Regions from separate parts of the Homo sapiens genome. Here region 2 is linked to region 1. The links are contacts of gene promoters, found by promoter capture Hi-C in blood cells and fetal thymus (Javierre and others, 2016). All regions are on one chromosome and are shown on one strand. The core of a region is centred on a gene start or on the middle of the fragment in contact, and the rest is flanking DNA. Distances in the headings are between cores, read along the strand shown. Region 1 has its middle 21 kb from the start of CLEC3B. Region 2 holds the start of LIMD1 (LIM domain containing 1).

Evidence for each region. Contacts are between HindIII fragments. The CHiCAGO score rates a contact against its expected background, and 5 or more counts as called.
Region 2: a contact is called between the fragment with the promoter of LIMD1 here and a fragment that was not itself captured in region 1, in 4 of 17 cell types (erythroblasts, M1 macrophages, fetal thymus and 1 more). The highest score is 8.0, in erythroblasts.

Annotation. Positions count from the first base shown.
Region 1 is chr3:45,043,987-45,050,172 of GRCh38, forward strand. No RefSeq gene overlaps it. Among named protein-coding and RNA genes, the nearest start is that of CLEC3B, 21 kb to the left of the region's middle. The HindIII fragment of the contact is 2,440 bases long and covers 1,620-4,059 here.
Region 2 is chr3:45,590,008-45,596,193 of GRCh38, forward strand. It overlaps LIMD1 (LIM domain containing 1), which reads left to right and starts at 4,744. Exons shown (of 8, transcript NM_014240.3): 1 at 4,744-6,186. The coding sequence starts at 4,873. RefSeq lists silencers at 3,751-4,220, 4,231-4,360 and an enhancer at 4,451-4,620. The HindIII fragment of the contact is 13,631 bases long and covers 515-6,186 here.

The DNA.
Region 1 (6,186 bases), core at 1,590-4,089:
CCTAGTTCCTTTTCAACAAATTCCTAGTTCCTAAGCATGGCTTTCTCAGCCTTTGCTTTGGAATTAGCCCTCTCAAGAGGCCTCTTCTTAAAGAGCATGAACCTAGGAGAGTGCTATGCCCCTAAGTAGCTTCCTACCTGCCTATTCCTGCATGGTAGGATCATTGATTGCTGGCTCTGTGACTCTGTGGCAGAGCTTGACTAAACTTTGCACAGCTTTTTTATTCTCCCACTCCCTTGGAGAGTTAGTTGCACCCTTTTACCAGTCATGTCCCAGTAGGAAACAGATTCCAACTCAGTTCAAAAGACTGTAATGAGGCCGGGCCTGGTGGCTTAAGCCTGTAATCCCAGCACTTTGGGAGGACAAGGTGGGCAGATCACCTGAGGTCAGGAGTTTGTGACAAGCCTGGCCAACATGCTGAAACCCCATCTTTACTAAAAATACAAAAATTAGCTGGGCATGGTGGCACGTACCTGTAATCCCAGCTACTTGGGAGGCTGAGGCAGGAGAATCACTGGGACTCAGGAGACAGAGGTTGCAGTGAGCCGAGATCGCACCACTGCACTCCAGCCTGGGCAACAGAGTGTGATTCTGTCTCAAAAAAAAAAAAAAAGACTGAAAGGATTACAGGCAGTCCTCAATTTATACAGTTCTGATATGCTTAAATATCAATGATCATGTTTTAGTTAAATAACACAGTCCCCCAACCAGATAGTTCAAATTTCAGCTACATTGTTATACTGGTAAAGTATAATTTTATTTTATTTTATTTTTTATTTATTGAGATGGAGTCTTGCTCTGTCATCCAGGCTGGAGTGCAGTGGCATGATCTCGGCTCACTGCAAACTCTGCCTCCTGGGTTCAAGTGATTCTCCAGCCCCAGCCTCCTGAATAGCTGGGACTACAGGCACATGCCACCATACCTGGCTAATTTTTGTATTTTTAGTAGAGATGGGGTTTCACCATGTTGGCCAGGCTGGTCTCAAACTCCTGACCTCAAGTGATGTCCCCCCCTCGGCCTCCCAAAGTGCTGGGATTACAAGTGTGAGCCACTGCACCTGGCCCCTTGCTAAAGTATAATTTCACTGCTAACTCTTCAGGCCACACATCACTAACAGATATGCTGCATGATCAGTGACCCACCACATTGCTTCTTTCAAAGTGTATTGGTGACTGGGCACCATGTGCCTGTTATTCAGCTCATCCACTGGCAGCACAGTGTGTAGTTGTGTTGCACTTTGTCTTCTGGTGAGAAATTCATGTGACAGTTTACAAAAATGGATAATTGAAAGAGGGAACTGACTAATAAAGATAAAAATGCAGCAAAGAAATGCAAAGTGAGAATGATGGAAGTGAGGTTTGTGTAGAATATAAATGGAGTTAGAAAAGAAAAAGCTGACTGTGGGAAGGTGGATGCTGCTGCTGTTTGAAGTTCTGGATATGCAACCAGAGGAACGTAGTGACCGTGAGCTTATCTACATAAATGACAACAGTGCCTGTGGCAAAAAGGATAAAGATGTCCTGGAGGAAATGATGCCAGCAAAAAACCACGAAAAGGAATTCTTAGAGATATTTTGTGACATTGAAAGCAAGAAAGATAAAATGTAAGAACTAATCCAAGCTTGAGAAGGAGGATGACAATTTTCCGGGAATAGAAAAGATACCCACTGAATCGAAATCTATATATAATGGGAAGGAAGTGGCAAGCACTGTCCAAACGGTTCTCGGTAAGATTTTCACAAAGAAAACACTTTAATTTCCAATGTTTCTAATGTTTTCAATTAGTGTATTTAATATCAATTTTTGCGACTTTTTCTCTTACTGACAGTAAGAAAGTTTAATGTTTTGACAAACATTTTTGAAAGGTCAGAGGACAATCGTCCTCTTCCCCATCGATTATTAAGATTGTTTTGCATGGTTTCAGCTTACATGGCCATTTTACAGTCCTAGACTACTGTGCAAAGTGAGTGCTTCCCATACTTACACAGCTCTGGGTACTATTCAGCAAAACGACAAGGGATATTAAGGCATTCAGAGGCTGGCCACAGCGGGAAGTACCCTGTCAGGCAGAAGGCCACAGGAGGAAATAATGCTGCTGGAGCCATAGCCGGTCCACGCAATAAGCGATCTCTCGGTGGAGGACATAGCCATAGACAGAAAATGCAGCAAAGCACACAGAGGAGACTGGGAGGAAAGAGCCCAGCACCTGCCTCTGTACAACCTCTTAACTCTTGCAGGTGCTTTCCACTGGGGGAAGCCAGCTGGAAGCCAGCTAGCCGTGGGTCCGGGCAATGCAGTCTGGTCAGACTCCCAGGGCACAGAGCTGGGTGGAGGTGGATGGAGCCCAACTGGGGGCTTACATACACTTAACATTGTACTTTCTTTCTTTCTTTCTTTTTTTTTTCAGACAGAGTCTCACTCTGTCACCCAGGCTGGAGTGCAATGGTGCAATCTTGGCTCACTGCAACCTCCACCTCCTGGCTTCAAGCAGTTCTCCTGCCTCAGCCTCCTAAGTAGCTGAGATTACAGGCACGGGCCACCACGCCTGGCTAATTTTTGTATTTTTAGTAGAGATAGTGTTTCACTATGTTGTCCAGGCTGGTTTTGAACTGCTGACCTCAGGTGATCCGCCTGCCTCCCAAAGGGCTGGGATTACAGGAGTGAGCCACCGCGCCTGGCCGTACCTTCGTGTTTATGTCCATGTCCTGCAGTTGAGGACAAAGCTATCTGCATCTCTGAGTACCACTGATAAAGACAAAGTAAGCAGAGGTGGAATCCAGGTTTCCATGCTCTCAATGTAGGGCTCCTAACATCTCCAGTGATCCAGCATCCCCTTGGAGCTGCTTACCAGCTTGACTAGGACAACACACAGAGTTAGAGGTCAATGAGGAGGAAAAAAATGTCAACAAAATCTTTCTTCCTGGCCCCCCAAAAGTGTTTTGGGGCTCTAAAATACAAGCATATGCTTCACATGTTTCCAGTGAACATTTTCCATGTCAAATATACCTCTGGCTTTTTTTTCTTTTGTCCTGGCAAGCTGTGTTGCTTCTGGATTTTTAATACTCAAACCCCACAAAATGTATCTCTCAATGTTTTTCATCCAGTGTTTTTAAGAAAAATTTCTATTGACAGTCCACAAGACTCAGTGGATTTTAATCAAGATAGGCTGGGAAAGTTTCAGATTACATCCCAAAGACAATGGTTAGAATGGCAGGGCAGGTGTGGGTACACCTCTTTCAGATGTTGCTGTATAGGAAGTGTAGTGCTTGGAATCGAGTTTTACGGCATTTTACTTTCTGACATGATAGTTTCTGTAACTTACATAAGGGATTTGTGTGTGTGTGTGTGTGTGTGCGTGCGTGTGTGAGTGTTTTAGTTACATATTTGGAAATCTACTGGGGACTTGGGGCATTCATTAAGCCAGAGTTTACCATTTAAATAGGACAGAGGGTGCTATTCTGCAGAATGCTTGATTTCCATGAATGGTCTACCATTAGGAGATGGCTGTATGTTGCCCTGTTGCTCTGGGGCTGGTTCAGGGATAATCCTTTCCATATGAGAGCTCCCAGTCTCAGAAGTCTCCCCACTAAGCCTATCTAGAATGCCCCTCAGTGCCCATTTAAGTCACCTGTGCTGCTGGTTTCCTTGCAAGAGGACTAAGAGGATCAGCCGGGCAGTGTTTCAAAACCTCGCCACTATTGGCATTTGGGGCTGGATAATTCTTTGTTGTGGGGGCTGTCCTGGGCATTGTAGGATGTTTTCCAGCATCCCTGACCCCTGCCCGCTAGACGCCAGCAATACCCTGCTTCAGCTGTGATAGCCAAAAATGTCTGCAGACCAGTCCAAATGTCCCCTGGGGGGAAAAATTACCCCCAGTTGAGAAGCTGAGAACCACTGAGGTAGAGGGTAGCTGCAAATTTCCTCACAGAAAGGTGCCATGAAAATGTAGTAGTTGAAGTAGAATTTATTTATTTTTGATGCTTCTAATTGCAATTCTGTTACTTAACATGACATAAAGAAACCATATTTCCCAAAGCAAAATTCAGAATGCACAACAAAAGCTTTTTTTAAAAAACAAAAACAAAGACTCTTGTACGAATGTATTTACTCACCAGCAGTATACAGTTTAAGGCACATTTGTATAGGGGTTTTTTTCTGCTCTCTTCCGCCTTTATCCTTCACAGGTATTTCCCTTAATCAATCTCTTGTATGTTTAATTCCTTCTTGGCCTCCGCTTCTAGGAGAACTTAAATGGATTCAAAGACTCAAAAAAAGTGGTAGTGGCAGCTGAAGCCAATATGGCCATGGAGGGCACCACTCAGATCCCTTTAACAGAACCTGCTGCAAGGAGCAGAGTGGACTGACAGCCTTGGCTGCCACCCCTAAGGACACTAGACCAGACTTACCCCGGCTGCCTCTGGGCAGTGACTGAGTACGTAGGAGCGTTTGTGCTGATCCATTCCTACCCAACGAGGGTGACTCCTCTCATGGAGAATTTTAGCTTGGGAACTCCCCAGCAATCTGGCCAAGATGTTCTCAGAACTGTACTGCAGTCTGAGGTTCTTCCACCTAGCCTTTCCTGCTCTCTCTTTTACACAGGTGTGGGACCTGTGTTGTGGAGGGCTCTCCCTGCCTATTCCTGCTCCCTTGAACCCTGGATCCTTCACAGGTGTTGCCCCCAAAACATCTCTTACACTTCTAATCCCATCCTGTCTGCTTCTCAGAGAACAGACAAGTAATGAATTCCCTTCACTAAAACAAAATTATGCAAAATATAATATGTATAATAAAATTATACAAGCTATAACAAGGTAATGGAATAATTATACTATTAAAATCAGAGATGTACCAGAAAATCGGCATGTACAATTACCTTAGCTTTGCTTCCCTTAGATGTGTTCTCTTAGGAAAGGATTGCATTCCTAAGAGAATTATCTGTATTAAGGAACAGGCACTCCATAATTGCCTTCCCCACCCCTCCACCTGGAACTTTCTCTAATAATGTAGAAGACACCTGCACACCAATGGTATCATAATCCTTTTTCCTGACGTGGCTTTGGATTCCATTCTATCCAGATAGAGGAATGGAACCCCGGATCCATTCAGTTCACAGAGACACGAATCCTCTAAGCTAAGATGTCATTTTACCCTCACCCCCAAACAAACCTGCTTCCTTGTTCTTGTCTATCCCTCCTCTTCTTCTTCCTCTTCAAATGTGATGACCATTATTCAACATGAAGATATGAGTCTGGGATATAGAGCAGGCTGAAACTTAAGGACTGAGGCTTTGCCTTTGTAGCCAGAAAGAGAAAAGTAGTCCCTGACAGCTGGCTCTTACTGGCCAGGTGCTCATGGCTGGGCTGTAATGTTTTTCTGCTGAACCACAGCCTATCTCACAGATTGCCAGCATCAGACAGGGGCTGGCAAAAACAAGACCATTCTGTAATCACGTCTGAGTAGGGACAAAAACAAGGTCACTGTGAAAATCACAAGAATCACTAAATATCCCCCACTCCAGCTAACACAACTGACTGCTTGCTGTTTTTTTAACCAATCACAGCTTTAGCCCTGCTGCACGCATTCCACCTTCTGCATAAAAATTAAGATGCCCTCTCATAGTATTGCTCCTGCCTCCTGATAGCATCCAATCCAGCGCAAACCCCTGCTTCCTTAAGACGTCTCTCAAATCAGTTAACATGAGCCCATATATATTAGAAGTCCCTTCTAACACCGTCTTACTGAGACACCCCATGGTTCCTCATCACAGACAGACTCCCCCACTGCAACAAATTAAAAAATCCAATTTTGTTCCTGGGGGTCTTTGGCTACAGGGCACAGGCAGTAGTTAGTTGGTCAGGTCCTGGCCAGTTCTATGACTCTGGCTCCCAAGGTGCTAGATTCTGCCTATGAAAGAAAAGGATAAGAAATTAAAGAGTACAAGACAATGAGGAGGAAAAGGATTTCATGACAGACAGCTCAGATGGGGATGAATCTCCTGACCAGAGTTCCCACTCCAACTCTCATTGCCCTGTGACCTTGAACAATTCATACGAATTCTTCCTCATTGGTAAAGTGGAAATACACTTAACCTTCACAGGGCTGTAAAACAAGTTCCAAACCAATCAAGACCGAGAACAAGCCATGTACAGTGGCCAGCATACGGAAAACACATGCTGCACGGGTGGG
Region 2 (6,186 bases), core at 3,494-5,993, 550 kb after region 1:
GGTTTGTGTTTAGTTGATGGAGATGGTGCAACTGTTCTAGAATGGCAGTGGGGGTGGAGAGTAATGCCTACAAGCTTCTGGAATGCTGAGCACTTCAGCTAAGCCAAGATACGGGGAGGCAGGAGGGCATCAAGGATTGTGGGCTCACATAGGTGCCAATGTCACAGGATACTTGGGGTGTTGCTTTTCCAGACAGAAACCTCTGTGGCTAGTGGTGCCTTTGCCCAAGTTTTGCTCAGGCCTGCTGGTTTTGTTTCGCCCACTTAGCCTGACAGGCTGTGCTCAGCTCGTGCTACTGGTGTGGATCCCATGCTTGCCAAGGGCAAGCCAGCCATGGAGCAGCGAGAGCTGTGTGAGCAAGCAAGCATGGGGTCTGGCCACTGCACACAGCCAGGCATGCCAGCTGTGGCAGTGCAGGCAGCTCCAGGTGCCAGCACGGGCACAGCTGTGGCTGGACCAGGCGTACCACAGGCAACTTCCACCGCTGGCACTGGGGAATGCGGTGGCACCTGGAAGCTTGGAGACACCAGGAACCGCAGAGCCCCAAAGAGGGTATCATAACCCTGGATTGGGGTGCTCCTAGGTCTGGGCTCCCCAAAGGGCTGCAGCTTTTCTCTCCTTCTCTCTTTTCTCCTTCTCTCTTCTCTCCTTCTCGTTGCCCACAACGTGGCAAGCAAGGGGTGTGTTTCAGTCCTGTTTGTGTTACAGATCTTTTAGTGCCACCATTTGCCCAGTGGGTCCCAAGTTCTTGTCCTGTGTCCACAAAGAATGAAGTATGCAGACAACTGGAGGGTGAGCAAGGCAGAAAGGAGCCTCACTGAGTGGCAGAACTGTTCTCAGTGGGTATCTCCTTTCCTCAGGCAGGTTGTCCCGATGAGTGTCCAGCTCTCAGTGGAGAAGAGACCCACAGTGGGTAGCTGCCTTCCACAGGCAGGTTGCCCCGATGTCTCTGCAGCCTTCAGCAGAGAGACCCAGAGTGGGTAGCTCCTATCTGCAGGCAGGTCATCCCATTGTCTGCCTGAGTCTGGCTGAGTCTGGTTTTTTTTATGGACTTCAGAAGGGAGGAAGTGTGTGCTGATTGGTCCACCGGCAGCCATAGGCAGGCCCAGGAAAAGCACCATAAATTCTCACTCCAGTCTGCAGGACTGATAGCTCAGCCCCTAGGTTTCAGGCTGTCCCTGTCTTGAAGGGGGCTTCACTGGGGACCCATCCCATTTCACCCAGGAGCCTGATTGCCCCCTGCTGCCATCAACCTGCTGGCCATGGCACCCATGGCACCCAGGCTGTTCATGCTGAGGGGTGCCTGCAGGTACATGCCGAACTGCCCTCAGCCTCACCCTGGCCTCCCTCCCATGCTCATCGGCACCCAAAGTCTGGAGGGGGCCGAGGCGGCAGGGGACTGGTGTGTCAGTGCTGCCCTGAGTGCGTGCACCCCCAGCTGGGTCGTGACAGTATCTGGGCTCAGCTTCAACTTTGCTCCAAAATCAGAATGGGCACCAGGAGAGGCCAGGCAACAGGAGCAGGCACTTCTGAGCCTGTGGGAGTAGGGGGGCTTTCTAGGTCCCCGGGAGCACAGGGATGCCCAGGTCTGCAGCCACAGCTGGGTGGATGCAGCTGTGCCTGGGAAGGCAGGGCTCCCGCCCCACCAACTCAGAAGGGAGTGGGGCTCCTGCCTGTTCCTAGCTCCTACCAGCTCTATGGAGCATGCAGTCACGGCCTCACCTCGCCATTGCAGCTAGCATCATGGCAGTGGCTGCTCCAGATGGACCACTGCTGCCATCACCAAGATAGGATGAAAAGAGAAGACAAATGTAAGAGCACTGGTTGGTGTCTGTGGCTCCTGCACCAGGGTCCCAGCTGTCCAAACTGAAAACCCAGGAAGCTGGCTCTGAGCTTACTGGACTTTGCAGAGGGATGGCCATATATTCCTAGCACTTTGTCAGCTACAACTGCCATATTTGGAGGTCAGGCAAAGTGAGCCAGTCTTCCACTCCAAAATCCAGTTTTTAATTAATAAGTATTACCCAACACCTAAGGAGTGTTTAATTATGATTACCTCTGAGAAAGGGGATGGTAGGCAACTTTTAAAACTTTATATATGTCTGTATTGTTCAAAGTTGTTATAGAAACATGTATTACTTGTAGATAAAAAACCAAAAAAAATTTTTTAATAAAAATACTTCATTTTAGTATAGTGCTTTATAGCAGTGCTTCTGTAACTTTATTGTGCAAATAAACCGCCCAGAAATCTTGTTAAAATGCAGATTCTGATTCAGTAGGTTGGCAATGGGGCCTAAGATTCTGCATTTTCAACAAGCTCCCTGGTGATATGGAGTCCATTAACCATACTTTGGGTTTACGGCAGCGGTCCTCAATCTTTTTGGCACCAGTTTCACAGAAGCCAATTTTTTCACAGACGGGATGAAACTGTTCCACCTCAGATCATCGGGCATTAGATTCTCATAAGGAGCGTGCAACCTACATTCCTCATGAGGGTAGTTCATAATAAGGTTTGTGCACCCCTCTGAGAATCTAATGCCACTGCTGATCTGACAGGATGTGAAGCTCAGGCGGTAATGCCAGTAATGGGGAGTGGCTGTAAATACAGATGAAGTTTCGCTGGCTTGCCTCCTCTCACCTCCTGCTGTGCCACTCAGTTCCTAACAGGCCACAGACCAGTACTGGTCAGTAGCCCAGGGGTTGGGGACCCCTGGTTTACAGAATATAAAGCACATTCATATATATTATCTTATTTGTTCTCTGTCACAACTCTGGCAGATAGGGGTTCACTAATTCACTTATTCGACCATTAGGTACTACTATTAATATATACCAGGCACTTGGCATACAGATATGGTCAAATGGAGTGGGAAACCTACCACCCAACCAAACAAAAAAAAACGCATGTTAACCAACAAATAAATAATTATAAATAGTTATCAGAACTGAGCAGGAAGTAAAGAGGGTGCTGAAAAAGAACAACAGGAACCACTCTGAGGAGGCCTCTAAGAGGAGGTGACTTCAGCAGGGATGGGAAAGATGAGCCACTCAGTTTAGGGGCAAGCTCTGGGCAGACACCAGGAAGCTCCTGCAGCTAGAGTGCAGGGAGGGAGGGAAGATCCCTAGATCTGGCCCAGAAGGCTGCGGCAAGGGGCCGATTTCAATTTAATTCTGGGGTAAGCACTGAGGATTTAGGTAGAGAAGTGTCTGTTCTAGTATTTGCCTTAGGATCACGATGGCTGTAGTGTGGGAAATGAAACCTCTCCAGGATCGCCTGGGAACTGGTATAGGGAGTCCCGGGCCATGCGGGGGCGCCAAGGAGTCAGGCCTGGTGTCCCTGCAGCCGCGCGGATCCACTTGCAGATGGGTCCCTCTACGAATAACGAGCCTACTAGGGCACGTGCTTTTACTGCTGCACTGAGGACGTGAAATGCGCGCAGGCACAACGAGACTTTCTTCTTTTTCGCTCTTTCAGAGGGCCCGGGCTCCCATCTACGCTTTGCTGGTTACGTTGGCATGTTGGGCATTTCCCCCTCTCTGCCTCAGTCTCCCGACCTGTCAAAGAGGACGGTGGGCCAGCCATGGGTGACACGCCCGTGCGCCTCTCCAATAGTGCACCTCGGGCAAGCCGGGCGGCGGGCACAGCCTGGACGGTGCCGGCCTCGAGAGGCACAAAGGGCTGGCTTTCCACCGGGGAAACTGAGGCAGTGGAGCGAGGAGCGGCGTCCTCGAAAGTCCTCGCAAACTCCCAGCGCCTGTGTTGGGCCCATGCAGGCTACCCAGGCCGCCCGTCTCCGAGCGGAGGACCCCGCCCAGCGCTGCCAGGGGCGGGGCCGGGCTGAGGACCCGAGGCTGGAAGGGAGGTCGGAGCACCCAATTCGGTCCAGGACTCGCAGGGGGCGGCAGTGGCGGCGGCGAAGTCCCGTGCAGTCCCAGTGCTAGAGCGTGGGACGGACTTGTGGGGCACCCCTCGGTGTTCTCCAGCCAGGCCTGGGGGCAGGAGGCCCAGCCACGCTGCCGGGTGCAGGCCTGCCCCTGGGCGCCCGCCCGCGCGCCGTCCCCGCCCCTCGGCCGCCCCCTCCGCCCCGGCGCGGGCTCGGGACGTGCAGAGCCGGCGAGCGAGCAGCAGGGACTGCGCCTGGCGCACTCACTTCCGCGTCCCGCCGCCCTCCGGCCCGCGCGCGCCGATCCGCCGCCGCCATCGGACAATGGGCCGCCAGCCCCAGCTGCCGTGAACTTCCTGCCGCTGCTCGGCCGCCCGTGCGTCCCGGACGGCGTTCCTGCCAGGCGCCGGCCGGGATCGCAGCTCCGGGGAAGCAGCGGAGGACCCAGCGCCTGGAACGTACCTGCGCCTCAGCCGCCGCGCGTTTGCTCCGGCCCGACTCGCGGCCTCGGCGCCCTCCCGGCCGATTCAGCTTCACCCGGCCCAGTCGGCTGCTGCCTTGCTGTGAGTTTCCGTGTTTGGTTGCCTAAGGAGGATGTGATTTTACTTTTTTGCTGTTTTCTTTTTCCTTTTATAATTTGAAGAGGAGAAAAGAACTCCGCTGAGCAGGCCCGGGACGGCGAAGTGCCACCAGCTACCCCAACAAGGACGTCTCCAGGGGAAAGGGAGTTGGAAGCAAACTTGGTCCAGCTGGCGTTGAGGTCTCAACTTCGGCTGGACTCTTAAATCCTGGGGTCATGCCCTTCACGCTAGGCAGGTGGAAGTCTTTACTTGTACTGGGCCGGACTTGAGCCCCGACCCTTCGCCAGCATCTCCCCGCTGCCCTCAACACACACACACACACACACACACACACACACACACACACACACACACACACACACACACACACACGGCACCTGGGCTAGGCCCGGACACCTGTCTGCAGCATGGATAAGTATGACGACCTGGGCCTGGAGGCCAGTAAATTCATCGAGGACCTGAACATGTATGAGGCCTCTAAGGATGGGCTCTTCCGAGTGGACAAGGGTGCAGGCAACAACCCCGAGTTTGAGGAAACTCGCAGGGTGTTCGCCACCAAGATGGCCAAAATCCACCTCCAGCAGCAGCAGCAGCAGCTCCTGCAGGAGGAGACTCTGCCCAGGGGGAGTAGAGGCCCTGTCAATGGAGGGGGCCGCCTGGGCCCACAGGCCCGTTGGGAAGTTGTGGGCAGCAAGCTGACTGTGGATGGTGCTGCCAAGCCTCCTCTTGCTGCCTCGACAGGGGCACCTGGGGCAGTCACCACCCTCGCTGCTGGGCAGCCCCCGTACCCACCGCAGGAGCAGAGATCCAGGCCATACCTGCATGGCACGAGGCATGGCAGCCAGGACTGTGGTTCCAGGGAGAGCCTGGCGACTTCTGAGATGTCTGCTTTCCACCAGCCAGGCCCCTGTGAGGATCCTTCCTGCCTCACTCATGGAGACTATTATGACAACCTCTCCTTGGCAAGCCCAAAGTGGGGTGACAAACCAGGAGTGTCCCCCAGCATCGGCCTGAGTGTAGGGAGTGGGTGGCCTAGCTCCCCGGGGAGTGACCCACCACTGCCCAAACCCTGCGGGGACCATCCCCTAAATCACCGACAGCTCTCCCTGAGCTCCAGCAGGTCTTCTGAGGGTAGCCTCGGTGGTCAGAATAGTGGCATTGGTGGCCGCAGCAGCGAGAAGCCAACAGGCCTTTGGTCCACTGCCTCCTCCCAGCGGGTGAGCCCTGGCCTGCCTTCCCCAAACTTGGAGAACGGAGCACCAGCTGTGGGGCCTGTTCAGCCCAGGACCCCTTCTGTGTCAGCACCCTTGGCCCTGAGCTGCCCCAGGCAAGGAGGTCTTCCAAGATCAAACTCGGGGCTGGGGGGTGAGGTTTCAGGTGTGATGTCCAAACCCAATGTGGACCCCCAACCCTGGTTCCAGGATGGGCCCAAATCTTACCTTTCCAGTTCTGCCCCGTCATCCTCGCCAGCTGGTCTGGACGGTTCACAGCAGGGTGCGGTCCCTGGGCTGGGGCCGAAGCCTGGCTGCACAGACCTTGGCACTGGTCCCAAGCTCAGCCCCACCAGTCTTGTCCATCCAGTGATGTCCACCCTGCCTGAGTTATCTTGTAAAGAGGGTCCCCTGGGCTGGTCTTCTGATGGTAGCCTGGGATCTGTGCTCCTGGACAGCCCCAGCTCCCCTAGGGTAAGGCTGCCCTGCCAGCCCCTCGTCCCAGGTCCT